Linked DNA regions of Homo sapiens: all the other regions are linked to region 1. Evidence: promoter capture Hi-C in human tissues and cell types (Jung and others, 2019). All regions are on one chromosome and are shown on one strand. Each heading gives the region's core, a stretch centred on a gene start or on the middle of the fragment in contact. The rest is flanking DNA. Distances are from core to core; before and after follow the strand shown. Region 1 holds the start of ERGIC3 (ERGIC and golgi 3). Region 2 holds the start of CNBD2 (cyclic nucleotide binding domain containing 2). Region 3 overlaps PHF20 (PHD finger protein 20). Region 4 overlaps PHF20 (PHD finger protein 20). Region 5 overlaps PHF20 (PHD finger protein 20). Region 6 overlaps PHF20 (PHD finger protein 20). Region 7 overlaps PHF20 (PHD finger protein 20).

Evidence for each region. The method cuts DNA at HindIII sites, captures the fragments that hold promoters and counts their contacts. A contact is called where the count stands out against the background at its distance.
Region 2: a contact is called between the fragment with the promoter of CNBD2 here and the fragment with the promoter of ERGIC3 in region 1, in 1 of the 25 tissues and cell types used here (mesendoderm cells).
Region 3: a contact is called between a fragment that was not itself captured here and the fragment with the promoter of ERGIC3 in region 1, in 8 of the 25 tissues and cell types used here (aorta, dorsolateral prefrontal cortex, hippocampus and 5 more).
Region 4: a fragment that was not itself captured here is called in contact with the fragment with the promoter of ERGIC3 in region 1 in 1 of the 25 tissues and cell types used here (spleen).
Region 5: a contact is called between a fragment that was not itself captured here and the fragment with the promoter of ERGIC3 in region 1, in 3 of the 25 tissues and cell types used here (liver, lymphoblastoid cells and mesenchymal stem cells).
Region 6: a contact is called between a fragment that was not itself captured here and the fragment with the promoter of ERGIC3 in region 1, in 3 of the 25 tissues and cell types used here (dorsolateral prefrontal cortex, hippocampus and lymphoblastoid cells).
Region 7: a contact is called between a fragment that was not itself captured here and the fragment with the promoter of ERGIC3 in region 1, in 4 of the 25 tissues and cell types used here (adrenal gland, hippocampus, lymphoblastoid cells and 1 more).

Annotation. Positions count from the first base shown.
Region 1 is chr20:35,539,567-35,543,741 of GRCh38, reverse strand. ERGIC3 (ERGIC and golgi 3) reads right to left here and starts at 1,664. Exons shown (of 13, transcript NM_015966.3): 1 at 1,557-1,664; 2 at 1,349-1,419; 3 at 1,142-1,229; 4 at 801-920. The coding sequence starts at 1,644. RefSeq lists an enhancer at 1,903-1,992. The HindIII fragment of the contact is 35,337 bases long and covers 1-4,175 here.
Region 2 is chr20:35,966,277-35,970,451 of GRCh38, reverse strand. It overlaps CNBD2 (cyclic nucleotide binding domain containing 2), which reads right to left and starts at 1,862. Exons shown (of 12, transcript NM_001365709.1): 1 at 1,639-1,862. The coding sequence starts at 1,689. It also overlaps the pseudogene LOC124904982. The HindIII fragment of the contact is 12,223 bases long and covers 1-4,175 here.
Region 3 is chr20:35,942,064-35,946,238 of GRCh38, reverse strand. The region is part of intron 17 of PHF20 (PHD finger protein 20); the gene reads right to left. Among named protein-coding and RNA genes, the nearest start is that of SCAND1, 10 kb to the left of the region's middle. The HindIII fragment of the contact is 3,743 bases long and covers 407-4,149 here.
Region 4 is chr20:35,920,060-35,924,234 of GRCh38, reverse strand. The region is part of intron 13 of PHF20 (PHD finger protein 20); the gene reads right to left. Among named protein-coding and RNA genes, the nearest start is that of SCAND1, 32 kb to the left of the region's middle. The HindIII fragment of the contact is 7,739 bases long and covers 1-4,175 here.
Region 5 is chr20:35,891,393-35,895,567 of GRCh38, reverse strand. The region is part of intron 9 of PHF20 (PHD finger protein 20); the gene reads right to left. Among named protein-coding and RNA genes, the nearest start is that of SCAND1, 61 kb to the left of the region's middle. The HindIII fragment of the contact is 6,428 bases long and covers 1-4,175 here.
Region 6 is chr20:35,872,803-35,876,977 of GRCh38, reverse strand. The region is part of intron 9 of PHF20 (PHD finger protein 20); the gene reads right to left. Among named protein-coding and RNA genes, the nearest start is that of SCAND1, 80 kb to the left of the region's middle. RefSeq lists an enhancer at 990-1,549. The HindIII fragment of the contact is 5,621 bases long and covers 1-4,175 here.
Region 7 is chr20:35,844,206-35,848,380 of GRCh38, reverse strand. PHF20 (PHD finger protein 20) reads right to left here. Exons shown (of 18, transcript NM_016436.5): 4 at 947-1,031. Among named protein-coding and RNA genes, the nearest start is that of PHF20, 74 kb to the right of the region's middle. The HindIII fragment of the contact is 7,233 bases long and covers 1-4,175 here.

The DNA of each region.
Region 1 (4,175 bases), core at 415-2,914:
ACAACCATGACTTTGCTCTCCTCCACTCCACATCCAGTCCTATAGCAAATTATGTTGGTTCCACTGGTGTCCTGCATTAATCTGCTGAAACAACGAATGATAAAACTCCCCACCAGAGTAATCTCTAAGGTGTTAGAAATCCCAGCTTTGAGGACAGTTTGCTGTGGTGGGAAACTGAGTTAACGAAGGGAATTGGGAAGCCACCAAGATAAAGGAAAGGAAGGTAAAAGTGGGTACCCACTCTGTACCAGGCATTTTACACATATGACTTCATTTGATCTTACAATTCCATGTGGTTGGTACTACTGTTTTATTACCACTTTCTAGCTGAAGCTCACAGACTGCAGGAGACAAAGCTAGATGTGAACCCAGGCAATCTGACTTGAGAACCTAAATTCTCATTAAACCACCTGCATTCCAAAGGGGAAGAGCATTAAGGGCTGAATTAAGCCAATGGGCTGGGAAAGCAAACACTCAAAGAAGCCTGGGTCCATCTAGACAGTTCTACCAAGGCAAGAGCACATAAGACCTATCTTCAAACCTCTGGTATTCAAACTACCATCTGCAGGTATTGAGGACCTCTGAGAATAATAGCCAGGTAGATTACCTGACTCGATATGTATAGAGGATTTTAGCTCACTCTGACTCTTACTAGCTGGGGGACCCTAGGCAAGTCACTTGACTTCTCTAGCTCTTAGTTGTTTAATGTATCACTATGCCTGCCACAGTTCACTTGCTAGCAGATAGGCTTGGGTACATCCAGCTTTGGGATCTGAGACCCGGCCCCCTCCCCTGGTTACCATGCCGCTCAGCCTCTGAGCTCACGGGGATGCCATCTTTATCTAGTCGTTGCTTGAACAGGTTGTGTTCCACATCCAGCTGCTGTTCTCCGGCCACATCCATGGCATCAATACTCAGATCTGGAAGCAGGAAAATCAGGCTAAGGTACTGGGACCCTAGGGACAAGGGGATGTGGGTTTTGGAGGGGAAGGGGATACTGGGCCTGTCTTGGGGCAGAACGGGATGAGGAGAAGGAGGTTGTCCTGGGGTCCAGTCCAGAACCTAAGGGTGGAGGTGTGAATCTGGCAGCCCACATGAGAACCCTGGGTCTCTCCAGTCCCACCCATGGTGAGGTACTCACAGGCACAAGGCATGTGCGGAAAAAGTACATCGATGTTGATCTTCAGTTTATCTCCCCGCGACTTGTCCACGTAGAGCTCAGGATGCACCTGGGGCAGCGCTACCTCAGTAAGACTTAGCCCCAAACCTCTCCTTCCCCACTCCCACCCCTAAAGGTCCTACTCCTAGAATGCCAAGCCCCGCCCACGCACTAAGCCCCGCCCCTTACCTCCGTGGTGAGGTAATACTGCAGCTCGGACAGGAACAGTAGCAGCATGAGAAGGCCACTGACAATGGTCACTGCAGGACAAGGGGCGAGGGTCAGAATGGCCTCGAATCCGCTCCCTCAGACACCGGCAGGCCAGTCAGAGTCCAGGAGCCCGGGCTAAGCTCTAGGACGCCCCCCTCCACGCGACCCCGGCCCCGCTGCGGCCTACCGGTGGCGCCCCCGCAGGTCTTGACCCGGAAGTCCTCCAAAGTCTTGGGGTAGGCATCGAACTGCTTCAGCTTCCCCAGCGCCTCCATGGGGACCGGCCGGAAAGGGGACGCCAGCCGGCCCGCCCCTACAGACTCCCTCTTCCGGCCTGGAGCCACGCCCCCCTCTTTTTCCTCACGCAGGCGCAGCAAACCGCACGCTTGGCCCCACCTTTAGCCGCGTTCTCTTACAGGCGGCCCCGCCCAACGATGCTGCCACGCCCCCTTGCGCGGGCAATTGGGTCTGGAAGCTACTGCCCCGGCCTCCGCTGTCCGGGGCGGGATTTTGAGGACTGGGGTGCGAGGAGTTCTCTGCGGGGTTAGAAACGCTAATAGCACCGTTCGTGTGCCTTGTGCTCGGAACTGCACCAGGTGTTTAAGACTCTTGGAACATCTTGGAATATCCTGGAACAGTGGTTTTTCGAGTGTACCGGACCGGCCGCATCATTATCAACTGATTACCTATTAGAAATGCAAATAATTGATTCCCACCTACTGAAGCCGAAACGCTAGGAATGGCATCGGATGATTCTGATGTAAAGTAAGGGTGTCCGCCCTGAAAGCAGGTGTGACTTATCTCCGTTTTCCAAAGAGCAAACTGTGACCTGGAGAAGTTAAATAACTTGCCCAAGATCACAGCCAATTAATAGCAGGACCTGCTTCCAGCCCAGTTCTTCTGGACCTCAAAGTACTCTGGGAATCAGGGTCTTTTGGGTTGATTTTACCTAAACAGCGTCCCAGTGCTTCTCCTGAGCGCTGCTTTCTGAATATTACCCTAAATTGCTCTCCAGGCCCTGGGATCCTCACGGACACGCTCTATCCCTCCAGGTTTAGACTCAAGTGATATGGAGCTTAAGCTCTCCCTGACACTTCCCATTGCAGCCCAGTGTCTCTAGAGGGACAGCTCCCACAGTAATGCAGCTGCAATGAGTAAGATATAAAAGCTCATAGGCTTTCATACAGGAATTCCACTTTAGGAAGTAAAAGCACCATGTCAAGGTTAATAGAAAAATTTTGAAAAAGAAAAAATATGTAAGCAGCTATCCAAGGTTAACAGAAAAAAATTTTAATATAAGGATAAAAGTACCATGATCTGGGTGGTTGTTACACCTTAAGATATTGAATCTGTCTCTTAAAGATTTTAAGTGCACCACATCATAAAGATGTATGCATGAGATTGTTCAATGGCAAAAATCTGGAACCAGCCAGAATGCCCACTGATACATTAAATAAATTGAATAAATCACGATACACCCATTCTATGGAATATTAGGCCACTTTTCAAAAGAATGAGGTAGATTTACTCCTTTAGGTATACTAAGAATGTATTTTTAAGGGGGAAAAGATGCAAAGTAATGTGCATTCCATCATTCCATTTTTTAATTAAAAATTGGGCTGGGCACAATGGCTCACACCTGTAATCACAGCACTTTGGGAGACCGAGGAGGATCACATGAGGCCAGGAGTCTAAGACCAGCCTGGGCAACACAGCAAGACCCCACTCTACAAAAACTTTAAAAACTACATCTGTAACCCTAGCACTTCAGGAGGCCGAGCCAGGAAGCATCACTTGAGTTCAGGAGTTTGAGACCAGCCTGGTCAACATGGTGAAACCCCATCTCTACTAAAAATACAAAAATTAGCCAGGCGTGGTAGTGTGCTCCTGTAAACCCAGCTACTTGTGAGTCCGAGGCAGGAGAATCGCTTGAACCTGGGAGGCGGAGGTTGCAGTGAGCCGAGATCATGCCATTGCATTCCAGCCTGGGCGACAGAGTGAGATTCTGTCTCCAAAAATAAAAATAAAAATAAAAAAATTAGCCAGGTGTGGTGGCATGCGTCTATAGTCTCAGCTACCTGGGAGGCTGGGGTTGAGCCCAGGAGAGTTTGAAACTGCAGTTGTTACCAGGTTACCTGCAGTTGTTACCAGCATAGAGTTGTCCAGGTTCTTGGCGTGTTGAACAAAACACATAAAGTAACAGAAGGGCAACGAAAGACAAACAGCAACAGAAGAACGGAATAACAAAAGCATAGATTTATTGAAGACGATTCATAGCGGCAGCTGGTTAGAGCAAGCTGCTCAAGAGCCTCCTCAATCAGGGTTTGTATTAAGCTAAAGGGACCTGGCAACACCCCTAGGTGCCCTTTAGAAGCCTCCAGTTGGCTACACCTATGAAGGATTGGCCTGCGACCAAATCAGAGGCTGAAGTGGAGACTTGGCCCACAGCCAATCAGAGGCTGAAGTGGAGATTTGGCCCCACGGTCAATCGGAGGCGGAAGTGGAAACTTCTGTCTCGTTATCATAGGATTGAAGATGTGGCCTGTATGCTGCCTAGAACTGGCTGCACCCCTTCATTTGCTTATGTCTTAACCCCCGGTTACCCTGATTCCCTGTTCTCCTGCCTCATAGTGAGCTGTGATTACACCACTGCACTACAGCCTGGGCGACAGAGCGAGTCTCTCTCTCTCTCTTTGTGTGTGTGCATATATATATATATAATATATATAAACTGTTATATATATTATATATATAAACTTATATATATTATATATATAAACTGTTATATATTTTATATATATAAACT
Region 2 (4,175 bases), core at 613-3,112, 430 kb before region 1:
GCACTCCAGCCTGGGCAACAGAGTGAGACTCTGTCTCAAAAAAATAAATAAAAACAAACAAAGGAAAAAAGAGAATGTTCTTTTTAAAGTGTATCATAAACAAAGTGAGACAACGAACTACAGACTGGAAAAATATACTTACTATGCATATAATCAACAAAGGATTACGATCCAAAATTTATTTTTTGTAATCCTACAAATCAAAAGAAAAATACAAATAACCCAATAGCAAAATGAGCAAAGGTAATTCAAAGGGAAAGTTCAAATTACCTATAAATTGTGAAAATATTGTTTTTATTCATTTGTATTTATATTTACATTGTTTGTAAAGAGGGGGTTTCACTTTGTTGCCCAGGCTGGTTTCCAACTCTGGCTTCAAGTGATCCTTCCACCTCAGCCTCCCAAAGTGCTGGGATTACAGGCATGAGCCTTCATGCCCCAGCCAAATTGTGAAACCATTTTTAACATTGCTAGAAATAATGGAAATGGAAATTAAAGTAATAACATGATACTATTTTGCACTTATCACTGGGAACTGGGAAACATGGTACAACCATGTTGAAGAGCAATTTGGCAACATTATATAAAGTTGAGGATGTGTGTACTTCACAATGGAAGAATTGTATGTACTTTATATGTCCTCTTCAGAGAAACATACATGTACAAGGGGATAGCCATGAGGGTAATCATGGCAACATTGTGTGTAACAGTGAATGGCTGAAAACAAATGTTCATTAGTAGGGATCGAAGGGATCAATACATTATGGTTCAGTCACAGGATTGAACACAGCACTAAGTCTGTGTGTGTCAATGTGGATAAAGCTGAAATGATTTTGAGTGGGAAAAAAGAACTATGATGCTATTTATGGTATCATTTTTAAACAGTGTGCCACATACTATATATTGTTTATGGATACATACACATGTGATAATATATAAAAATATAAACAGGAAGGGTGACACCAACTTCAGGAAAGTGGTTACTATTAAAGAGAAATAAAGGGGCATGGGATGGTAAAGAGCTTTCCCTACACCTGTAATGTTCTATTTCTTAAAAATTAGATATCTATGGAAATATGGGGAAAGGTACTTTATGAATAAAATTAATACTTACTGAGTACAATTTACTATTGTCAGGCATTATCCAAAGCACTATTCTGATATGTAAATCATTTAATCAGTAAATTTATGCAGTAGGTACTAGTATTATCATCTCACTTTACAGAGGAGAAAATAAAGGCACAGCAAACCAAGCAACTTGCCTGGGGTCACATGACTAATAGGTGATAGGGATTTAAACCTAGGTAGTCTGGCTCCAGAGTTCACAAGCTTAACCTATGACTCAATGTTGCTACCCTGACTCTATCCTCCCTCGTTCTCTCTGGATCTCATAATAGCAGGAAGAGTGGGTACAGAACAGGACTCAGTGGCTCTGAGTGTGGCTTATGGCTTGCCCAGTGTGGGGGGCTGGTAGGCTACAGGGCAGGGGTCCCTCCTTTGTGCCATGCTGTGACTCCAAAAGGTACAGGATGGCCACCATTCATCCAAGACCCCTCCTACACCTGCATCGACCTTCCTCAAAACACCTGTCTGTTCAGTCTTCTGCTCTTCCCTCCCAGGGCCCTTGCCCCTCCTCACCAGTTCCTTCTTCAGGAGCTGCCAGGCATAAGTTACCATATGTCTCCTCATGGTTCCTGTGCAGGCAAATGGCACAACTAGCCCCTTTGCCTTTCAAGGGGAGGACTACAAATTTTTCCCCAAAAATCCAGTAATACTAGAAACAAATAGATTTCCTCAGTAACAAGGCAAGAGCTCCACTCCACTCCTCCTACCATACCATCAGCTACTGGAAGCCCTGCTCTGAGAAAAATCATTCTCAGAATCTCCTAAGGTCACAATGAAAGATTCTGGAGGCAGGGGACACAGGGATTGGAATGTGGGAGTCTAACATTTATGGGATACTCACAGGCATTATCTCAGCTAATCCTCACAACCACCCAAACTTTTACTCAACTCCATACATAGGAGACTGGGGCTCAAAGTAGCTAAATGGCTGCCAGAGTCCTGGTGAGACAGGAGAATGGCACAACCCTGCTGACCAAAACAGGATCTAGGACCCCCTAGCTGTCCCCATCCCTCATTAACATAAGACACTCCTACCAGTGCCATGACAGTGTACAAATGTCTTGGCAATGACCAGGAAGTTGCTACCTCTTTCCTAGAAAACTCTAAAAACCCACTCCTTAATTTGCATTAACCTGCCCCTTAATTTGCATTAGCCTGCCCCTTAATTTGCATGTGATTGAAAGTGGGTAGGAATGCGTATACTACACTTGATCTCAGCCAAAAGGCTGAGAAGGGATTAGAGATGAGCATAAATACAGTTGCCAACATCTCATACACTGGGTATCGACTCCGGATTCATTGCCCATGAGTTAGCCCTGCCCCACAAGGAGAAGCACTATTCAATAAAAGATTGCTGTCTAACACCACTGGCTCACCCTTGAATTCCTTCCTTGGGCAAAGCCAAGAACTCTCCTAAGCTAAGTCTCAATTTGGGGGCTCACCTGTCCTGCAAAGATAGGGCTTTTTTGTTTTTTGAGACACTGTCTCACTTTGTTCCCAGGATGGAGTGCAGTGGCCCAATCTCAGCTCACTGCAACCTCTGCCTCCCAAATTCAAGTGATTCTCCTGCCTCAGCCGCCCAAGTAGCTAGGATTACAGGCGTGTGCCACCATGCCCGGCTGATTTTTGTATTTTTAGTAAAGACAGGCTTTCACCACGTTGCCCAGGCTGGTCTCAAGCTCCTGACCTCAAGTGATCCACCCACCTCAGCCTCCCAAAGTGCCGGGATTACAGGCATAAACCACCACTCCTGGCCAGGGCCTTTTTTTTTTTTTTTTTTTTAAGAAAGCAGTGTAGCTAAATGTCAGGTACACTTGCTCTCCATTTGTAGCATCCAATTAACAGAAGCAAGGTCTGGTCCAGCCTGGCCAATGTGGTGAAACCCCATCCCTACTAAAAATACAAAAAAATTAGCCGGGTGAGGTGGTGGGCACCTATAATCCCAGCTACTCGGGAGGCTGAGGTGGGAGGATCACTTGAACCCGGGAGGCAGAGGTTGCAGTCAGCCAAGATTGTGCCACTGCACTCCAGCCTGAACGACAGAGCAAGACTCTGTCTCAAAAAAAAAAAAAAAAAAAAAAAAAAAAGCGGGAGGGGGAATTGGCATAAATGGCATGCAGAGGAGGGAATGAGCAGGTGGGAGTCTCCATGACTCACTTTGGTGCCTTATCTACCGCCTGGTCGAGCTGCCACCATCTTGGGCAGAACTAGGTTGTAAAGTGGCCTTGTCTCGAGATACTCTCCAGGTGGGGCAGAGTTTCCTGGCAGGCATACTTTTGGTTGTAAATTGACTATTGTCTCTCAAGGCAATCTGGTGGGAGAGGTTTCTACTCTGGAGCTTTTAAGTAAGCACACAGATACACTTGCTCTAGGAGTGTCTGGTGAAGGGAAAGCAAAAGGTTATAACTGCATTTCTAATCAGCTAAGTAGGAAGTGGGGAACAGAAGAAAAACACAAAAGAGAAAGAAGAAAAAGATGATTTAAAAAGATAACTCATTCTCTATCTCATAGAAAAATGGGTGTACTTTGTTACAGCGGGAGGCTTCTAGGCTGGGAGTAGGTTCATCCAGCACCTTAGCCCAGGGACCACTCTGAGACTTAGAACTTGGAGGCCCTGGAACGTGGGTGCATAGTACTGTCCCATAAGTCTGGTTAAATCAGGACAATAAAAAAAAAACTCAGCAAAACAGAAGACCTCACCCAAATCAAGTGTCAAATATTGAATGGAACTTGGTGACTAGAACTCAAATCTCTGGAGTCCTTCTAAAGATATAGAAAAATATAGGCTCTAAAGTGCTTTTTTCTATTAAAGATGACAATTGAGTATCTCAATTTGCTCTTGCACCAGGATCCTCAGTAGAAAACTGTGATTTCAAGCATCACCTGCTCTGCCATTCCTATCCCGTGGGGTATATCTGTTAACTCTCCTCCAACTGATAGGTAGACAGAAGGACACTGAGTTCAGCAAAGATGGCTGGACAGCTGAGAAGAAAGACAAAGGCCACTCTTGGGGTGGGACAGTAATCACACACAGAGGTGAGAAGGGACAA
Region 3 (4,175 bases), core at 1,029-3,528, 400 kb before region 1:
CCTCGGCCTCCCAAACTGCTAGGATTACAGGCATGAGCCACTGGGCCTGGCCTTTTTTTTTCTTTTGAGACAGAGTTTCGCTCTTGTTGCCTGGGCTGGAGTACAATGGCAATGATCTCGACTCACTGCAACCTCCGCCTCCCGGGTACAGGCGATTCTCCTGCCTCAGCCTCCTGAGGAGATGGTATTACAGGCACACACCACCACGCCTGGCTAATTTTTGTTATTTTTAGTAGAGATGGGGTTTCATCATGTTGGCCAGGCTGGCCTCGAACTCCTGACCTCAGGTGATCCACCTGCCTTGGCCACTTTGAAAGTGCTAGGATTACAGGCATGAACCACCATGCAGGACCCCTTTAAATATTTAATGTAAGATTTCAGGTATTAATTAACATTATCATCATTGGTTCAATATCTAGAAAGCTGTCTTGCTTGTGAGAACAAGTATTTCTCTACAGAAAGATGTTTGTTCTTCCCTAAGCTACCCCCTAAAGCTCTGGCATTTGGGGAGAGACCATCTGGGAACCCTGCACCTTTGACAAGAACCACCCCCTGCAGGTAGCCCCTGTGCTATCCCAGCCTGCCTGTAGCCTTTCTAGTCCATGCACCAACCTGTACTGAGCACCTTCTGGACCCTGGAGTGCAGCAAAAGAAAGGCCCACCCAGTACCTCTTCATCAAGCAGCCTGCAACCTACTGCGCAATCCTCTCCTGTCCTCAGATGCAGCCCTACCTTCCTCTCCACCTTTCTAAATCCTCTGTTTCTTGTGAGCTATTCTTTAGGGAAGCCTTCCCCAACCCTATACCCTGAATCTGGTCCTTGTGTTACAGGTGCTATGATATCACATGTTCTCCTTTGAGCATTTACTATGGTTTGTCATTACAGGTAATGGGATGATTTGTTTAATATATGTCTCTCCCACTAGATCAAGTTCCACGAGGGCAAAGGCTGAGTCTGCCTTGCTTGCCACTATATCCCTAACACTCACCTGTGTCTGAAATGTGGCAAGCCTGCAACAAACACAGCGAGAGAAGGAATGTGTGGTCCAGCAAAGCGCCCTACCCATTGCTCTGGGCCCTATGTAGTTTATCCTCCTCCATCATATTTCTTGTTGGTATTTGGGGGTTCCAAGAAGGAGGAACCCTCTCTCTTCCTAATTCCAGCAAGTACAAGGACTTGGAAATAAGAAAAATAAGACCACCTCCTCAGACTTAAGCTTGAAAACCATTAGTAAAAGATCAGTCATGTGAGAGGAACTAGTGGCCTGCTGAGCAAGAAAACTGGATAGTGACCAGTTTCAAAACACCAGTAAGTCTTTAAAAAAAACTAGAAGGAGACAGGGGACTGTTCAGCAAACAGGCAGAAGAATAAATGGAGAGGCCGGACGTGCACGCCTGTAATCCCAACACCTTGGGAGGTCAAGGGAGGTGGATCACCTGAGGTCAGAAATTCAAGACAAGCCTGGCCAACATGGTGAAACCCCATCTCTATTAAAAATACAAAATCAGCCAGGTGTGGTGGCAGGCATCTGCCTGCTACTTGGGAGGCTGAGGAAGGAAGAGTCGCTTAAACCTGGGAGGCAGAGGCTTCAGTAAGCCGAGATCATGCCACTGTACTCCAGCCTGGGCGAGAAAGAGCAAGACTCCGTCTTAAAAAAATAAAATAAAATAAAAATAAATAAATGGACAAAAGGCAGTCAGGACTGGATGGGTCACTCCAACAGCAAAGAGAGTCAGTCAATCTTTTGCAAGATGATCCTACAGTTGCTGAGAGGCCCCTCTTAAGGTCACCCTAACTACCTTGGATCTAGTTCCAGGCTCACCAAAGACATCCCGATACTACGGTGGCCCAGGAGGCATGCACAGTGTGAAAGCGCACCAACGCTCAGACTGGAAGAGTCTAAGCCACTCAGTAGTGCCTGAGCTTGGTTAACAGGAGTGTGTGGAGTTCCTGAGATGGAAGCTGTCTGTCTAGGTCTGTTAGGCTGAAGAACAAAGCCAGGACTGTGGGAAGTCAACAGCATCTCCTCTGGACCCCAGCATCCAGCAGGCCACCCTCTCCATACCATGTGCTGCACCATCCCAAGTGTCTCTTTTAAAGATGCAGAACAGCTTCCAACTAGCATAGTGGTTGCTAGCAAGACAGAAGGTTACAGAGGAAAAAATTCTGTTCAAATACACTAAGATCATGTGTATAGAGACCACTGCTCACCAAGGCAACATTTTTTATTTAAGAAAATAATCTCTCTAATGCCAAAAGACTTTTTTACTTTTCATGGTCATTAAATATCCTTTGTCTTTTAGTTTTAAAGTACTGTTCAGGCTGGGTGCAGTGGCTCACACCTGTAATCCCAGCACTTTGGGAGCCCGAGGCAGGCAGATCATGAGGTCAGGAGATCGAGACCAGCCTGGCCAACATAGTGAAACCCCGTCTCTATTAAAAATACAAAAATTAGCCAGGCATGGCGGTGTGCACCTATAATCCCAGCTACTCGGGAGGCTGAAGCAGGAGAATTGCTTGAAGCCAGGAGGTGGAGGTTGTGGTGAGCCGAGATCGTGCCACTGCACTCCAGCCTGGGCAACAGACCGAGACTCCGTCTCAAAAATAAATAAATAAATAAATAAATAAAGTACTATTCATATAACTACATAAATAATTAAATAATGGCCAATTGTAAAACAATGGCATATATATATATATATTTCATATAATAGCTTACTAGGCTTTTTTTTTTTTTTTTTTAAAGAAATGGGGTCTTGCTCTGTCACCCAGGCTGGAGTACAGTGACACGATCATAGCTCACTGTAACCTTGAACTCCTTGGCCTCCCAAAGCACTGGGATTACAAGTGTGAGCCACCACGCCAGGTCAGCTTTTAAATTTTTTTAAATTTTTTATTTTCAGACTGAGTCTCACTCTGTTGCCCAGTCTGGAGTGCAGTGATATGATCTCAGCTCACTGCAACCTCCGCCTCCTAGATTCTGCTGCTTCAGCCTCCCAAGTAGCTAGGATTATACGTGTGCACCACCACACCCAGCTAAGCAGGCCGGCTTTTTAAAAAAGGAATGTTACATCCAAATTCCTATTTTAAAACTTGGTTATGAAAGCTTAGTTTAGGGCTGGGTACGGTGGCTCACGTCTATAATCCCAGCACTTTGGGAGGCCAAGGTGGGCGGATCATGAGGTCAGGAGATCGAGACCATCCTGGCTAACACAGTGAAACCCTGTCTCTACTAAAAATATAAAAAATTAGCCGGGCCTGGTGGCGGGCACCTGTAGTCCCAGCTACGCGGGAGGCTGAGGCAGGAGAATGGCGTGAACCCGGGAGGCGGAGCTTGCAGTGAGCTGAGATGGCACCACTGCACTCCAGCCCGGGCAACAGAGCGAGACTCCATCTCAAAAAAAAAAGAAAGAAAGAAAGCTTAGTTTATCTTGGTGTTTAAATAAAGAGTTGATTCCATAAAAAGGGATTTTGATTAATCTTAAATACTATGCAAAAGTCTGTTTACCTAAATAAAATCTTTAAGCTTTATCATTTATTTTAATGCTTTCTTGTTATCTCTCTCAGGGCCTAGAGTCTTAGAAATGTACAGAATATGTGGCTCTGAATTAGCAAGACACACAAGAGGTCATCTGTGAGGCCAAAGAAGGGGGTTCAGGCCTACCATCCTTGCCACACTGCCCATTCGGCAGGGCTAGAGAGGCCAAACCTGGCTGAAGAGAGGATTAAGGAAGTAAGATGTGAGTAGACTTTAACTTCTCCCTCAGGGAAGGTCCCTGTGGCAACAACCGAACATTCACCCTGTTTCCATGGTGCTAATCCTCTTTTCAGGGACTACAGAGCCACTCCTACTGCCATTCTCTCAAGAGCTACACTTTTTTGTCTAACATTATATCCTCCTTCAGCTCTCTAATAATATGTTTTTCACAGACAGTGGCATCAGTTACAATCCCTTTTTTTTAGTTTATTTTTTTAGAGACAGGGTCTGTGTTACACAGGCTGGAGTACCGTGACATAATCACAGCTCACTGCAGCCTCCAACTCCTGGGCTCAAGCAGTCCTCCCGCCTCAGCCTCCCAAGTAGCTGGGACTACACCCCTACACTTGGCTAGTTTTTTATTTTTTTGTAGAGACTGTGATGCCCAGGCTGGCCTCAAGCAATCCTCCCACCTTGA
Region 4 (4,175 bases), core at 496-2,995, 380 kb before region 1:
GGGCGACAAGAGCAAAACTCCATCGCAAAAAAAAAAAAAAAAGAAAAGAAAAGAAAAGAAAATACTATACATAAAATGCAAACATTTGCATTTAGACAAAGAGATGGTTGCAAAGCAATGTGAATGTACTTAACATCACTGACTTGCATACTTAAAAATGGTTATAATGGTAACTTTTAGGCAGGGCAGGGTGGCTCACACCTGTAATCCTAGCACTTTGGGAGGCTGAGGAGGAAGGGTCATTTGAGGCCAGGAGTTTGAGACCAGCCTGAAAAACATAGCAAGATTCCATCTCTACAAAAAAAAATTAAAGAAATTAGCAAGGTGTGATGTTGTGTGCATGTAGTCTCAGCTACTTAGAAGGCTGAGGTGGAACAATCACTTGAGCCCAGGAGCTGGAGGCTGCCATGAGCTGTGATTGTGCCTCTGTACTCCATCCTGGGTGACAAAGCAAGATCCTGTCTCAAAATAGGAAAATATAAAAATAAAAAGGGTAACTTTTAATGTTATGTGTATTTTACCAAAAAATTTTTAAAAGGAAACAATACATTTGCTATTGTTTGTTTAGCCATAGAATGTTTCTGGAAGGATATACAAGAAACTGATAAGGGCTGACTCTACGGAATGGGTAGTTGGGGATAAGGTGGGGATAAGGTATTTCTCTGTGTGCTTTCTGGACTTTGAATTATGTCAGTGCATTAGGTACCAACAAATAATATGAATTTTAAAATAACCAAAACTTTCAAATGGGCTTCTTTGTTTAAATTTTTATTTACTTAATTTTTATTTAATTTCTTGTAGAAACGGGGTCTCTCTATGTTGCCCAAGCTGGTTTTGAACTCCTGGACTCAAGTGATCCTTCCGCTTCAGCCTTCCAAAGTGCTAGGATTACGGGTGTGAGCCACAGTGCTAGGCCATTAAAATGGGCTTCTTTTTAAAACTGCTATAAAATCTTTACTGGAGTTGGACACTTAATACATATTAATACTTGTTGTTGTAGGGCAAAGGTCAGCAAACTACAGCCCATGTGCCAATGCCAGCTTGACTTGTTTTGTAAATAAAGTATTATGTGAACACAGCCATACGCATTTGTTTAGGGGTTTTTGTTTGTTTGTTTTTTGAGACAGGGTCTCACTCTATTGAACAGGTTGTAGTGCAGTGGTACAATCTCATCTCCCTGCAGCCTTGACTGCCCAGGCTTAAGTGATCCACCCACCTCAGCCTCCTGAGAAGCTGGGACTACAAGTGTGCACCATCACAATTAACTAATTTTTGTATTTTTTGTAGAGACAGGGTTTGCCACGTTGCCCAGGCTGGTCTTGAACTCCTGGCCTAAAGTGATCTGCCCACCTCAGCCTCCCAAAGTGCTAGTATTACAGATGTGAGCCACTGCAGCCAACCATACAGGTGAAAATTTGTTTTACATATTGCCTACAGCTGCTCAAAGAAGAATCCAGTAGGTGCAACAAGGCCATATGGCCCTCAAAACCTAAAAATTTATTATCTAGCCATTTAAGAAAAAGCTTAACAAAACATGCTCTACAGCGATTAAAATAATTTAAATATCAAATGTATTTCCTGTTCATTTTTATGTGGTAGCCAGATTTCTCAAATACCGTATTTATTAAGTAGGATTTTAACCTTCCAGTGATTTAAATTAGCACTGGTAAATAAGATAAAATAGTGATATACATGAACAATGTTGATACTACTCATATAATGACAATGATCCAAAAAGTTATTTCTCTATAGTAATACATGCACTTCTAGAAAACACACTCTAAATGTATTCTAGGGTTATTCAAAATATCAATTTAAGGTAAAGATTTAAGAAAAATTTATTCCTGTCTTCCTAATTAGATGGTGAATACATTTTAAAAGTTTAAACTGTATTTGTTCTAGCTAGCTCCCTCTAAACTTATGCCTTTTGATAAAGTTATTGAGTAGAAAAGGTACGTTGCTCACAGTGACAGGACAGTCAGAAACCGTCCCTCCTTAACACAAAGCCAGGTGGGCACTCTTGGTTCAGGTGGACAGCACAGAAAAGTCCTCTGGAACAAAAGCCAAGAAGCTCTGAAGTGAGCTTGAGACACAAGGTCTTGTGGAGCCTGGGAAGCAGGAGATCAAGTTGGCTCCTGACTCTGCCATGCTCATGGTGGCCCCAATTGCCCCGAAATTAGTTTCTTCATATAGCACATAATGGCATATTAACCTCTACCCTCAAACACACCAAGATCCTTGCTACTTATAGAAAAGTCAATAGAGAAAGTACCAGAGTGGATCAGAAATGGGTTACATACTGTTAGACAGAATAGCCCTGCCAGGAGGGACATTCATTACTCACCCACTGAAGATTTTAACAGGCAGATAAAGGGCAAATCTGTCAGACTAACAAGGCCTGGAACTGAGCATATGCTCAAGGATGACAGAGTAGAAACTAAAGATCTTCAACATCCTTTTAAAAACAAACTTAAAAAAAATCTACTAAAAAATGATAGTCTTCATGTTATATAACATTTTTTTTCTTTTCTTTTTTTTGGGGGGGAGGGTGGGGACAGGGTCTCATTCTGTCACCCAGGCTGGAGTGCAACAGAATAACCAGGGCTCGCTGCAGCCTTGAACTCCCAGGCTCAAGTGATCATCCTACTTCAGTCTCTGGAGTAGTTGGGTCTGCTGGCATGCATCACCATGCCCAGCTAATTTTTTAATTTTTTTGTAGAGGTAGGATCTTGCTATGTTTCCAGGGCTGGTCTCGAACTCCTGGGCTCAAGCAATCCTCCCGCCTCTGCCTCCCAAAATTCTGGGATTACAGCATGCCCAACCAACAATTATCTAATAGTAGTCCACAGGGCTTCAGAGAGTCTGCAAAATGTGTGTGTTTTTAAGGTAGGACAATTAAAAAAAAAAAGATGCACACTCAAACATGTTCCAAGCCATATGTTAAGACAATGAAGCCCGCCACCACACATAATTTTGTATTGCTAGGATAGCTCAGTATTATGTTGACCTCAAAACGGAGCTTGTCCTCCCATCTCTGATTAATCAAAGTAACTACACAGCATGCTGTTCAGGAAAAGTCACCCTGACAATGGCCATGTGCATCACGCTTGTCTCACTGTTGTATAACCAAATAGAGAAAAACAAATGAGCCACTGAAGTGCTCCAAGTCAGCAACTGTCTGTCACTCATAATTCTGACAGCATATTAGAATCATGGGAATATGCCCACCATTCACATGTCCGACCTCACAAGTAAAGATTATCCATTTTGAACTTTCAAAACTATTGCTGTTACCTGTTACACATTTTGGGGTTCTATGAAACAGTCCATTAGGAAAAGGGGTTCTGATATTCAAAAATGTTTGAAAACCACTGAACCAAGGTTTAATAAAGGTCTTAAATATCAGGTACCCTTGAATCCCAGAGGTTACTATGAAGGCTATTCAAAAAGACAAGACTCTCCCTCAGCCTAAAGTGTGGGTATGTATGTGTGTATGTACATGCGCATGTCCACTGGTGGTGCTGGGGAAGGGTTGGTCAGCCAGGCTAGATGGTACTATTATGTTTCAAAAACAAATTTTTCTTGTTTCACTTCTCAACTGTAAATGTAAATCCCCGTAGCTAAGGCCGCATAGGGAAAGAGCACTTGACTGGGTGCCCTGGGTTCAAATCATAATCTGATGACTTATTTAATGGTTCTACAACAATGAAAGAAATCATATCTTCGTAATTTTGTTTTCCCAAATAAGTGACTTGAGATCGCCTTGTTAGAGGTGAGATGGTATTTCTGAAAACACTCCAGAAACTTTAAATCACTACTCAGCTGTACCCAGTTACCTTAGCTCCATAGAGTTGCTTTAGTTCTATTAACAAAAAGAGCACGACTGTGGTACATCCATAGCATGGAATACTACCGGACAATAAGAATAAATGACTACTGAAACACACAACAACATGGATGAATCTCAAGGATATTATACAGAGTAAAAAAGGCCTCTCTCAAAAAGATACATACCACGTGATTCCATTAACCAAGAATCATAAATTACATAATTATAGACAGTTGAAACAGTTTAGTGTTTCCAGGGTTAGGGATAAGTATGGCTACAAAGTATGGGTACCAGGAGGGAATCTCATGGTCTTAGTATACCTCAGTACCTTGATTGCGGGAGTGAT
Region 5 (4,175 bases), core at 437-2,936, 350 kb before region 1:
TTCTTTCCTAAAACAAAAAATAGTTTATTTTGGAATATCCTTCCCTTGATCTATATTAGGTTAAATCATATAAACTTGCCATTTTGTAGGCTAAAAAAGACTAAGGCTGGAACCCTGTGCAGTGGCTCACGACTATAATTCCAGCACTTTGGGAAACTGAGGCGGGCAGATCACTTGCAGTCAGGAGTTCAAGACCAGCCTGGCCAACATGGCGAAACCCCATCTCTACTAAAATACAAAAATTAGCGGGGCACGGTGGCTCACACCTGTAATCCCAGCACTTTGAGAGGCTGAGGTGGGCAGATCACTTGAGGTCAAGAGTTTGAGACCAGCCTGGCCAACATGGTAAAACCTTGTCTCAAATAAAATTATAAAAATTAGCCAGGCATGGTGGCACATGCCTGTAGTCCCAGCTACTTGGGAAGCTGAGGTGGAAGAATTGCTTGAACCCAGGAGGCAGAGGTTGCAGTGGGTCAAGATCACGCCACTGTACCCCAGCCTGGGCGACAGAGCGAGACTTTGTCTCAAAAAAAAAAGAAGAAGAAAAATTAGCTGGGCATGGTGCGCGCCTGTAGATCCAGCTTACTCAGGAGGCCGAGGCAGGAGAATCACTTGAACCAGGAGGTCGAGATCGCAGTGAGCCGAGATTGTGCCATTGCACTCTAGCCTGGGTGACAAGAGTGAGACTCCGTCTCAAAAACAAAAACAAAAACTTGCACTCTTGTGTATACACAATGGTCATCTACATAAATCAAACAGTACAGGGGCTAAGTGTGGGTTCTGCAGCTGGACAGCCTATTTCAAAACCGAGTTCTTCCACCTACACCCCTTGCCTCAGTTTCCTCATGTGCAGGATGGAGACGATAATGGTAACAACTTCGCTGAGTTGTGAGAATTAAATAAATTACATGCAAAGAGCTTAGAAAGGTGTACGGCACATAAGTGCTCAATATTATCTACTATGACTATTCAATGTCATTTTAAATTTCAGGAATTAACCTGATCATAAGCAGAAGAGGGGAAGTGTCCACCACCCACAGCCTCACTGCATGCTCATGCCAGAGGCAGTATGGTATAGTACAAAAAGCACAACATTTAATCCCAGGTCTACCTTTCATTAGCAGCATAAATTAGCTGTGCAAGCTAGTCTAATTATCCAGATTCTTAAGGGAAGAATACCACCTATTTCAAAGATTTGGAGAAAAGGTTATGGATAATGTATGTACTTGGCACAAAGTAGGTGATCAACACATGGAAGCCATTATCATTTCAAATATAAAATACATCATAAGCAGGCTTATGTTATTTCTGGAACATGGCTGGAGACAGCTATTATAATTATCAACCAAGTGTGAAACATTTCTTCAACCAGTCTTCATATGCCCTGGCTGGGACGCATATCACCCTGAAAGCACTTCATTTCGTCTACGTCCTCCTGAAAGTGTGAAATTCAAAACCAACCACAAGGTTCCTAGTATGACTATTCACATTTCAGTGTGATTATTATCTCCACCTTTTGGGACATCTTTTACTATGACACCTAAAGATTTTCTTTTGTAATACTCTATACAATGCAGGATAGTACCAAGCTTGTTCCACCAAAATACTGAACATTGTTTTATCTTTTTAAAACATAAATAACAGTACATGTTGGCGGGGCACAGTGGCTCATGCCTGTAATCCCAGCATTTTGGGAAGCCAAGGCAGGCAGATCACCTGAGGTCAGGAGTTCAAGACCAGCCTGGCCAACATGGTGAAACCCCATCTCTACTAAAAATACAAAAAATTAGCTGGGCGTGGTGGCAGGTGCCTGTAATCCCAGCTACTCGGGGGGCTGAGGCAGGAGAATCACTTGAACCTGCTAGGTGGAGGTTGAAATGAGCTGCGATCACACCATTGCACTGCAGCCTGGGCAACAAGAGCCAAACTCTGTCTGAAAACAAAAAAAGAAAAAAGCCATGGCCGGCTGGGAGTGGTGGCTCATGCCTGTAATCCTAGTACTTTAGGAGACCGAGGTGGGTGAATCACTTGAGGTAAGGAGTTCAAGACAAGCCTGGCCAACATGGCAAAACCCCGTCTCTACTAAAAATACAAAAATTAGCTAGCTGTGGTGGCGTGTGCCTGTAATCCCAGCTACCTGGGAGGCTGAGGCAGGTGAATTGCTTGAACCCAGGTGGCGGAGGTTGCAATGAGCCAAGATCACACCATTGACCTGGGTGACAAGAGCGAAACTCCATCTCAAAAAAAAAAAAAAGTCATGGCCAAACTATCTGTTGAAAGATAGATATGACTGGACTAATAATCAGACTAATAATCTGCCAATCTAGTAAACCTTTCAAAGCAAGCGAGTTTAGTTTACAGGTTAAAAATTCCCCCTGCAAAAGCAAAATCCTTGATTCCTCACAGCTAAGCAAAAGTTAGTACAGCTGAAACTCCAAAGGAGCGCCAGCTTGGCACTCAGGTGGACCAGCTGCCTCTGACAGGCAGTACTAGGATCAGAGAGGCTCAAGTGAGCACGGATGCTCCTCAGGAGGGAAGACACTGCCAGGTGCCACTATCACAAAGATCCTGGCCAAACCAAAGGCTCTTTTCAATTTGGCAACACTAAGACAAAGTAGTTTCTGTTTTCTCTGATGGAATAAACATCAAAAGAAGATTTGAGCATTACAAATCTTTAACCATGGAAACTCAGGAAGTAAGATTTCCCAGTGAAATCAGTGAAGTATAACTCACTGTGATACAAGCAAGCTCTTCTGATTATAAGCCAGTTGATAATCTACCCTGCACTGCTGGAAAAAACAATCAACACAAGCATCAGAGTGAGAAAAGCTGCAAACAGGGTATGAATCAGTAATGCATACTAGCCTGTGATAAAATATGATAAATTACACAATTTGCTATAATTTCAGAACCACAAATCAAAAAGTAGATTCTTCCAGAAGTAGAGCTCTAAAGAAAAAAAAGTAGATAAAAATATTATATATGAATAAAATGTTTATGTTAACTTTTTAATGATGAGAAAATGTTTAGGATATGTTAAATTATAATATAACAAAAAAGGCCAGACGTGGTGGCTCATGCCTGTAATCCCAACACTTCGGGAGGCTGAGGCAGGTGGAGCACCTGAGGTCAGGAGTTCGAGACCTGCCTGAGCAGCATGGTGAAACCCCATCTCTACTAAAAATACAAAATTGGCCGGGTGCGGTGGCTCACGCCTGTAATCCTAGCACTTTGGGAGGCCAAGGTGGGCAGATCATTTGAGGTCGGGAGTTCAAGACCAGCCTGACCAACATGGTGAAACCCCGTCTCTACTAAAAATACAAAAAAAAAAAAAAAAAAAAAATCAGCCAGGCGTGGTGGTGCATGCCTGTAGTCCCATCTACTCGGGAGGCTGAAGCAGGAGAATCGCTTGAACCTGGGAGGCAAAGGTTGCAGTGAACCAATATCACGCCACTGTACTTGAAACTGGGCGAAAGAACGAGACTGTCCCCCGCTTAAAAAAAACAAAAAAACAAAAAAAAACAAAAAAAATTAGCTGGGGGTGGTGGCGGATGCCTGTAATCCCAGCTTCTCAGGAGGCTGAGGCAGGTGAATCGCTTGAACCCGGTAGGCGGAGGTTGCAGTGAGCCAAGATTGCCCACTGCACTCCAGCCTGGGCAACACAGTGACAAACTCTGTCTCAAAAAGTACATAAATAAATAAATAATATATAAAAAATAGAATAACAAAAAAGACACATAAACACCAAGACTTAAGCAATCGTCCCTTTCTCGTGAAGGTTTTGCAAATTGGACTATTTTACTTTTGAACCCAAATATTTAGAGACATGAAAAATTATATTTTCTAGACTTCACAACCTTATCCTAATTTTTGCACAGCCAAAAGGAGCCCTCTGTATGCACAATAAAGGCTGCCAGTTCAGCCAGTCTAGGCCATGTGGTTCCCTCTATTTGGCATGTTGTTCCCACATGCAAACCAAGTCTTGCTCATCCTTCAAATACCACCTCCTTGCACAATGCCTTCACCCCGGTCTCTCAGCAGAAAAGATTCTGTCCTGCCTCGAAGAATTCCTGTAAGTATTTTATGGATCCTGTAGTCCTTCCCTTTCTATTTGTATAACAGTTGGTTTTGTTTATTCCTTTTTCTAAAATGTTGAAATACCCAATGTGCTGCCT
Region 6 (4,175 bases), core at 1,067-3,566, 330 kb before region 1:
CAGCCACCACGCCCGGCCAATTTTTTTGTATTTTTAGTAGAGACGGGGTTTCACCGTGTTAGACAGGATGGTCTTGATCTCCTGACCTTGTGATCCGCCTGCCTCGGCCTCCCAAAGTGCTGGGATTACAGGCATGAGACACTGCGCCCGGCCAAATTTTTGTATCTTTAGTAGAGATGGGGTTTCACCATGTTGGCCAGGCTGGTCTCTAACTCCTGACGTCAGGTGATCTGCCCGTCTTGGCCTCCCAAAGTGCTAGAATTACAGGCGTGAGCCACCACGCCCAGCCTGAGACCTCTAAACTTCTAGGGGAATTACTAACTTCTGTTTTACTGCATAAATGAATGCTTGCCCAATTACAACAGTCACAACTGCATTCGTCTCTGGCTTTTTAATTTTTTTATTTTTGAGATAGAGTCTCGCTCTGTCACCTAAGCTGGGTGCAGGGGCGCAATCTCGGCTCACTGCAACCTCCACCTCCCAGGTTCAAGCAACTCTCCTGCCTCAGCCTCCCGAGTAGCTAGGATTACAGGCGCCTGCCACCATACCCGGCTAATTTTTGTATTTTTGGTAGAGATGGGGTTTCACCATGTTGGCCAGGCTGGTCTCGAACTCCTGACCTCAAGTGATCTGCCCACCTCGGCCTCCCAAAGTCCTGGGATTACAGGCATGAGCCACCAGGCCCGGCCATCTCTTCTGGCTTTTAAGTCACTAAAGCAAAAAGCAAATACCTCATTCAAAAAAAAAAATACAGTAATGGGTTCCATGCTATATTTATTCCTCTTGGCTCAAGCTCAAAGTAATTTGACCTCCACCCTTACTATTAACCCTCTTGGAAAATAGATAAGTGCTTCAATCAGTTGCAATGGTTTCAAAATTATTCCCTTAGAAAGGCTACTGTGAGACCTTTGTAAGGATGCAGACGACGACATGAAATCTCATCATCATCCTTTTCCCCTAGACTCACCTGTCCCACCCTTACTATACTTGATTCTGTCCTCTCCACAATCCAGAAACATAATTAGGTTAGCTAACACAAGACAGAAATTATGTATGTGTATATTTTGGGAAAAAGTATAGCCCAAGACCCCATAAAATACGTAAACTTTACAAAAGGCACTGGAGTTAGCTTCTAATCTAGTCTCCTCACTTATATGCATGGCGTGTTTCCTAGTGGTGTAGGAACAATTAACTACAAATTTCAAGTGACGTCTAACATACCACTACCCTTAAGACAACATAATTAAAAGCTTAGTCTGCTGAGTCACAGGGGATGTGGCTGTCATCTAGAGTTCTCCCTGCCAAGACAGACAACTAAATTCCGAGATTAAATTTCCACCTCATTTACATATGAACTTTAGTAATTTGCCCCACATGTCAGAAGAGCAGGCTGGGAAGAAAAGAGCCCTGACACTAAGAGGAGGAGTAGCAAAAAAAGGAAGATCCCTTGCCCCGACAAGCCCTCGAGGCTGAAGCACAACACTATGGACGAAGCTAGACAGAGAACTAAGAGAACAGCCGCCGAGATGAGCTAGGAATGAATACTTCGGTACTCTTTTAATTTTTTTTTTTTCTTTTTTGAGATGGAATCTCACTCTGTCACCCAGGCTGGAGTGCAGTGGTGCGATCTCAACTCACTGCAACCTCTGCCTTCTGGGTTTAAGCAATTCTCCTGTCTCAATCTCCAGAGTAGCTGGGACTACAGGCGTGCGCCACCAAGCCCAGCAAATTTTTGTATTTTTAGTAGAGACGGGGTTTCACCATGTTGGCCAGGCTGGTCTCGAATTCCTGACCTCAAATGATCTGCCCGCCTAGGCATCCGAGAGTGCTGGGATTACAGGCGTGAGCCACCACCCCTGGCCAATTTTTTAAAATATTTTAGGAGATAGGGTCTTCCTCTGTCACCCAGGCTGGCAGTGGTACAATCACAGCTCAAGGCAGCCTCGACCTCCCTGGTTCAAGTGATCCTCCCACCTCCGCCTCCCAAGTAGCTGGGACTATAGGCATGAACCATCATGCCAGGCTAATTTTTTTATTTTTTGAAGAGGGAGGGTCTCACTATGTTGATGCAAGGCCTTCAATATAGCGAGTCTTGAACTCCTGGCCTCAAGTGACCCTCCAGTCTCAACCTCCCAGAGTGCTGAGATTCACTATTTTCAAACAGCTGCTCTACTACATTTATGTTAACTATATAGCATCTGGCCAAGAAAAAAAAAAACTATTCAAAAAAAAATTTTTTAAGTTATCCAAATAAAAAGTAGACAATTCTATAGACACACAGTCTTATTTGTTTGTTTTTTAACTAAAAGTTGAGAAAAGAAAAAAAATTAGCTGGACATGGTGGCACACGCCTGTAGTCCCAGCTACTCAAGTGACTGAGACAGGAGGATCACTTGAGCCCAGGAGGTCCAGGCTGCTCTGAGCTGTGATTGTGCCACTGCACTCCAGCCTGGGAAACAGAGTGAGACTCTATCTTTAAAAAAAAAAAGTCAAGTTTTAACAAAAACCAGAAGAATTTGTCATCAGGAACCTATAAGAAAATCTGAAGGAAATTCTTCATGCTGAAAAGAAATCTTCGAAGAAATAAAGAACATTGGAAATAGGCATGTGTAAATATGACTGTCGCTTTTTGCCTTATCGTCTTTAACATACATAATTGTGTAAAGCAAAACTTATAATACTACATTATGAAATTTATAGCAGGCCAGGTGTGGTGGCTCACGCCTATAATCACAGTACTTTGGGAAGTCAAGGCGGGTAGATCACTTGACGTCAGGAGTTCCAGACCAGCTTGACCAACATGGTGAAACCCCATCTCTACTAAAAATACAAAAAAAATTTAGCCAGGCGTGGTGGCACATGCCTGTAATCCCAGCTACTTGGGAGGCTGAGGCAGGAGAATCACTTGAATCTGGGAAGTGGAGGTTGCAGTGAGCCAAGATCGTGCCATTGCACTCCACCTGGGCAACAAGAGTGAAATGCCATCTCAAAAAAATATGTAAATAAAAAATTTTTTAAAAAGGAATTTATAGCATATACAGATATAATTCATGTGACAACTACAACATGGGGGAGGTTAATGGAACATTTTTACATAAAGTGGTTAAATATTAACTCTAAGTGAACTGTGAGAAGTTAAGGATGTATACCATAATCCATAGAGTAACCTCTTTCAAAATGCTAGAAATACAGCTAAAAGCTAACAGATGAATTAAAATGAAATTCTTAAAAAATCAGTTAACCTAAAAAACAAGAAACAAAACAACAAAACACAAATAATATAAACAGACAACCAGCCTGGCCAACATGGTGAAACCCCGTCTCTACTAAAAAATACAAAAATTAGCCGATTGTGGTGGTGGGTGCCTATAATCCCAGCTACTCAGGAGGCTGAAGCAGATGAATCGCTTCAACCCGGGAGGCAGACGTTGCAGTGAGCAGAAATCGCACCACTGCACTCCAGCCTGGGCGATAGAGCAAGACTCTGTCTTAAAAAAAAAAAAAAAAAAAACAAAAAAACAGACAAAACACAGCCAAATGTTAGCCTAAAAACCAACCATATCAACAATTACATTTAGGCCAGAAATAGTGGCTCACACCTGTAATCCTAGCACTTTGGGAGGCCGAGGTGGGCAGATCACCTGTGGTCAGGAGTTCGAGGCCAACCTGGTCAACACGGAGAGACCCTGTCTCTACTAAAAATACAAAAATTAGCTGGGCGTGGTGGCACACTCCTGTAATCCCAGCTACTCGGGAGGCTGAGACATGAGAGTTGCTTGAACCCAGGAGGCAGAGGTTGAAGTGAGTGGAGATCAACCACTGCACTCCAGCCTGTGTGACAAAGCAAGATTCTGTCTCAAAAAAAAAAAAAATTATAAATGTGTATGCATCTAAAAGATCTTCAAAATACACAAAGCAAAAATGACAAAATTAAAGGGAGAAATGAACAAATCCACAATAACAGAGATTTTAACAACCTAACAACCTTCTCTTAGAAATTGACAGAACTAGACCAAAAGGAAAAAAACCCCACAAAAATCAATTTATCAGAGAAACACCATCAACTACCTTGATCTAACTGACAGATACAGAACAAACACATGACAACGGTAAAATACACATTCTTTTCAAGTGCATATGAAACATTCACCAGGACAGATCATATGCTGGACCAT
Region 7 (4,175 bases), core at 700-3,199, 300 kb before region 1:
CAGGAGAATCGCTTGAACTCAGGAGATGGAGGTTGCAGTGAGCTGAGCTGGCACCACTGCACTCCAGCCTGGGCAACAGAGCAAGACTCTGTCCCAAAAAAGAACAAGAAAAAAAAAATCATTCTCAGACAAAACTTGGTCAGCCTGAGGCCCAGCAGTTAGCAGAGTATTAATAAATATCTGAATAACTTCATCAAATGAAAAGTCAGGCTGGCCTAATAGTCAACCCTACAGTGGCATCAAGAGGCCTGACTTCCCTAAACACTCACTTCAGAGATCATGGAGACCACACACACCCTAGTGGAATGTGCTTACAATGGTATCACTGGGACCCAGACTCTATTCTCCAGGTGCCAGGATCCTGACCGTACATATTATCCTCATAACTCTTTGTCTGCCCTTTTACTAGCAAAATTGAGCCTCTATTAGTCAAGTTCCCCATCCTGTCTCTTCACATGTTCAACTCTGGCAAATGAAACCCAACTCAGTGCTCTAAATTCCGGCATCCCAGTTTCCACTAGCAACTCCAATGTTACAGACCACCCTCAGTCACCTTGCATCTAGAAAGCACATTTTTTAAAGTTTGTTAGTGTTCATTTAATTTCTAAGCTATTCACAAATATTCAGGACTATGTCATCAATTATATTAGGAACTCCTAGACAGCAAGTACCTGCATACTTCCAGGCAGAGTGACAGATGAACTGTGACTGTTTTAGAAAACAATGACTGAAATTCAGGGGGTAAAAAGTCAAACTATCTTTTTTGTCCAGTTTTCTTTACACTTATAATTTCTACCCAACTCCTGACATAGTGATTAACTTGAATAAAGCGGATACCTAGGCAGTAAATAAATACTGAAAATATACTATCAAGCTCTGATATTACAAACATCCCCCCCCACCACCTAAGTCATGAGTAAAAACAACTACAACTCAAATGCCTTACCATCCTTGTTAACAGCAGTGACTTTGGCCGGGTAAAAACGACAATCAGACCAGCAAGCAAGGACCTGCTCATTTATTTGAAATTCCTAAAAAACATAAAAAAAAAAAAAAGATCCTGTTACCAACCTAATTTCACAGGACATACAGGACATACCAGATCTCATAAAAGAAGCTGGGATTGATAAGAAAGTGTGAAGGGAAAGTAGCTGTTGAGATGGAGGAAGATATTTCTGTTGTTCAACACTAGGAGTTGCTATAATTTCGGTGTCATTTGTCCTCACCAAAAGTAAACGTTTTCAGTGCAGCAGTGTTGAAAATGGGGCCTATGAGAGGTGTTTGGGTCATGGTAGCAGATCCCTCATGAATAGATTAATGCTGTCTCACAGGAGTGACTTCTCGCTCTCCTGGGAATGGATTCATTCCCAAGAAAGCAAGTTGTTACAAAGCAAGTCTCCTTCTGTTTGGTCCCTCTCTTCACACTTGTCTCCCTTTTTGACCTTCCACCATGTATGACACAGCATGAAAGCTGATGCCAGAAGCCAGTACCATGCACTTGAACTTCCCAGCCTGCAGAATTGTGAGCTAAACAAACCTCTTTTCTTTATAAATTACCTAGTCTCAGGTATTCTATTATAGCAACACAGAAAAGACTAAGACAGGAGTCAAAACAAAAGGGCTGGGACACAAGACCTCAATAAGCCCAAGAGGTCTGGGCAGGCACAGAACAGCACTGATGATAATTCCACCCTAACCAGCATACATTCTGAAAATGAGTCTAAGAGGCCAGGACTACTAGAATACACATCCAGTATAGGAGTCAGAAGATATGAGGCTACTTCATACTCAGGGAAGCAGCATTTAATGCCATCTACACTTCTAAAGGGTCTTTTGCCAGGGAAAGCAACCATTCACCTTTAATATTTTATACTCTTTTCCCAGCACACAGTTTGCACTGATAAATTTTGTACAATGGGCCAGGTGCAGTGGCTCACACCTGTAATCCCAGCACTCTGGGAGGTCAAGGTGGGCAGATCACCTGAGATCAGCCTGGCCAACATGGTGAAACCCCGTCTCTACTAAAAATACAAAAATTAGCCTGTGTGGTGGCGGCCACCTGTAATCCCAGCTTCTCGATGGCTGAGGCAGGAGAATCACTTGAACCCAGGAGGTGGAGGTTGCAGTGAGCCGAGATTGCGCCATTGCACTCCAGGCTGGGTGATACAGTGAGACTCTGTCTCAAAAAAAAAAAAAAATTTGTAGAATGAACACTGAAAAGTCAAATGGAACAATACTGAATAATCCTTAATTGGGAAAAAGAAAAAAAAGGCCAGCAATAGTTCAAGTTCCCTAATAGGGTTAAAACAGAAAATAAGCCGGACACAGTGGCTCGTGCCTGTAATCCCAGCACTTTGGGAGGCTGGGGAAGGTGGATCACCTGAGGCCAGGAGTCTGGCCAACATGATGAACTCCCACCTCTACTAAAAATACAAACATTAGCCAGGTGTGGTTGGATGCGTCTGTAGTCCAAGCTACTCAGAAAGCTAAGACTCGAGAATCACTTGAACCCGAAAGACAGGTTGCAGTGAGTCAAGATCATGCCACTGCACTCCAGCCTCGGCCATACAGTAAGACTGCCTCAAAAAAAAAAAAAAAAAGAAAGAAAAATAGAAGGCAGGGCTGAGTCTGAGTCAGATCCAAAAGCAGCAGGACCATTATAGATGTCTCAATGCCTGTTTAAAAACCTTAAAACTAGCCAGGCACAAGGGCACACGCCTATAATCCCAGGACTTTGGGAGGTACGAAGGATCTTCCTTCTTTGGCAGAAAGATCCCTTAAGGCCAGGAGTTCAAGACCAGCCTGGGCAACATAATAAGACCTTGTCTCTACAAAAAAAATTTTTTAATTAGTCAGGCACAGTGGTACATGCCTATAGTCCCAGGTACTCAGGAGGCTGAGGAAGGAGGATTGCTTGAGCCCAAGAGGTCAAGGCTACATTAAGCCAAGACTGCACCACTGCACTTCAGACTGGGCGACAGAGCAAGAAAACGTCTCTTTAAAAAAAAACAAAAAAAGATGAGTTAATGGGTGCAGCACACCAACATGGCACACGTATACATATGTAACAAACCTGCACATTGTGCACATGTACCCTAGAACTTAAAGTATAATAAAAAAATTAATAAATAAAATTAAAAAAATAAAACAAACTGTTATTACAGGAACAGAAAAAAAAAACACCATAAATGAAGCTTCAAAAGATATGCTAATTGAAGTAAGTCAGACCCGAAATGTTACATACAGTATGATTTTATTTCAAATGAAAAACCAAACAAAAATAGGACTATAAACAGAAAATAGATAGATCAGTGGCAAGCCAGGGTCCAGAACTGGTCCAGGACTGGCTGGTGAAGACTGAATGAAAAGCAATTTGAGGGAGAGCTTCTTTTTGTCATAATGAAAATATTGTGTATCATATGGCAGTGGCTATCTGACAATATAAATTTGCAAAACTTATTAAACTATACAGTTTAAAATGGGTGATTTTTATATCACAAATTTAAATGCTTATTAAATTTAAGCTTATTACACAAAACTTATGAAATCATACACTTAAAATGGGTATAGCTAATTTAAATAAAGTTAGTTAAAAAACAAGAGTCTATAGTGCCTTCACCCTTGTTTTAATATGATAAAATTTCTAAAAATATTCTAAATTAGGGCTTAATCTGTAATCTTAAAATATCATTATTTTATGATTTCTTTGCTTCTTTTCTAAAGTTGATAACCCTCTTTGGACTCGATATCTTCTTCTTAGGATGAACTTTATATTTTATTGTTTCAGCCTGTGTGTGTGTGTGTGTGTGTGTGTGTGTGTGTGTGTGTGTGTGTGTGGTGATGGTGAAGAAAAATGGGAGATTCTCAGGGTGGGAATTTTATAATGACAGAGTGAGGAGCTTGACAAATCTTTGGCAAGAAAGCAAAAATAAAGCTGGACAACATTATCAAAAAAAAAAAAAACCAAAAAAAAAAAACCGGCTGGGCGCGGTGGCTCACACCTGTAATGCCAGGACTTTGAGAGGCCGAGGCAGGCGGATCACGAGGTCAGGAAATCGAGACCATCATGGCTAACACAGTGAAACCCCATCTGTACTAAAAATACAAAAAATTAGCCAGGTGTGGTGGCACGCACCTGTAGTCCCAGCTACTCAGGAGGATAAGGCAGGGGAATC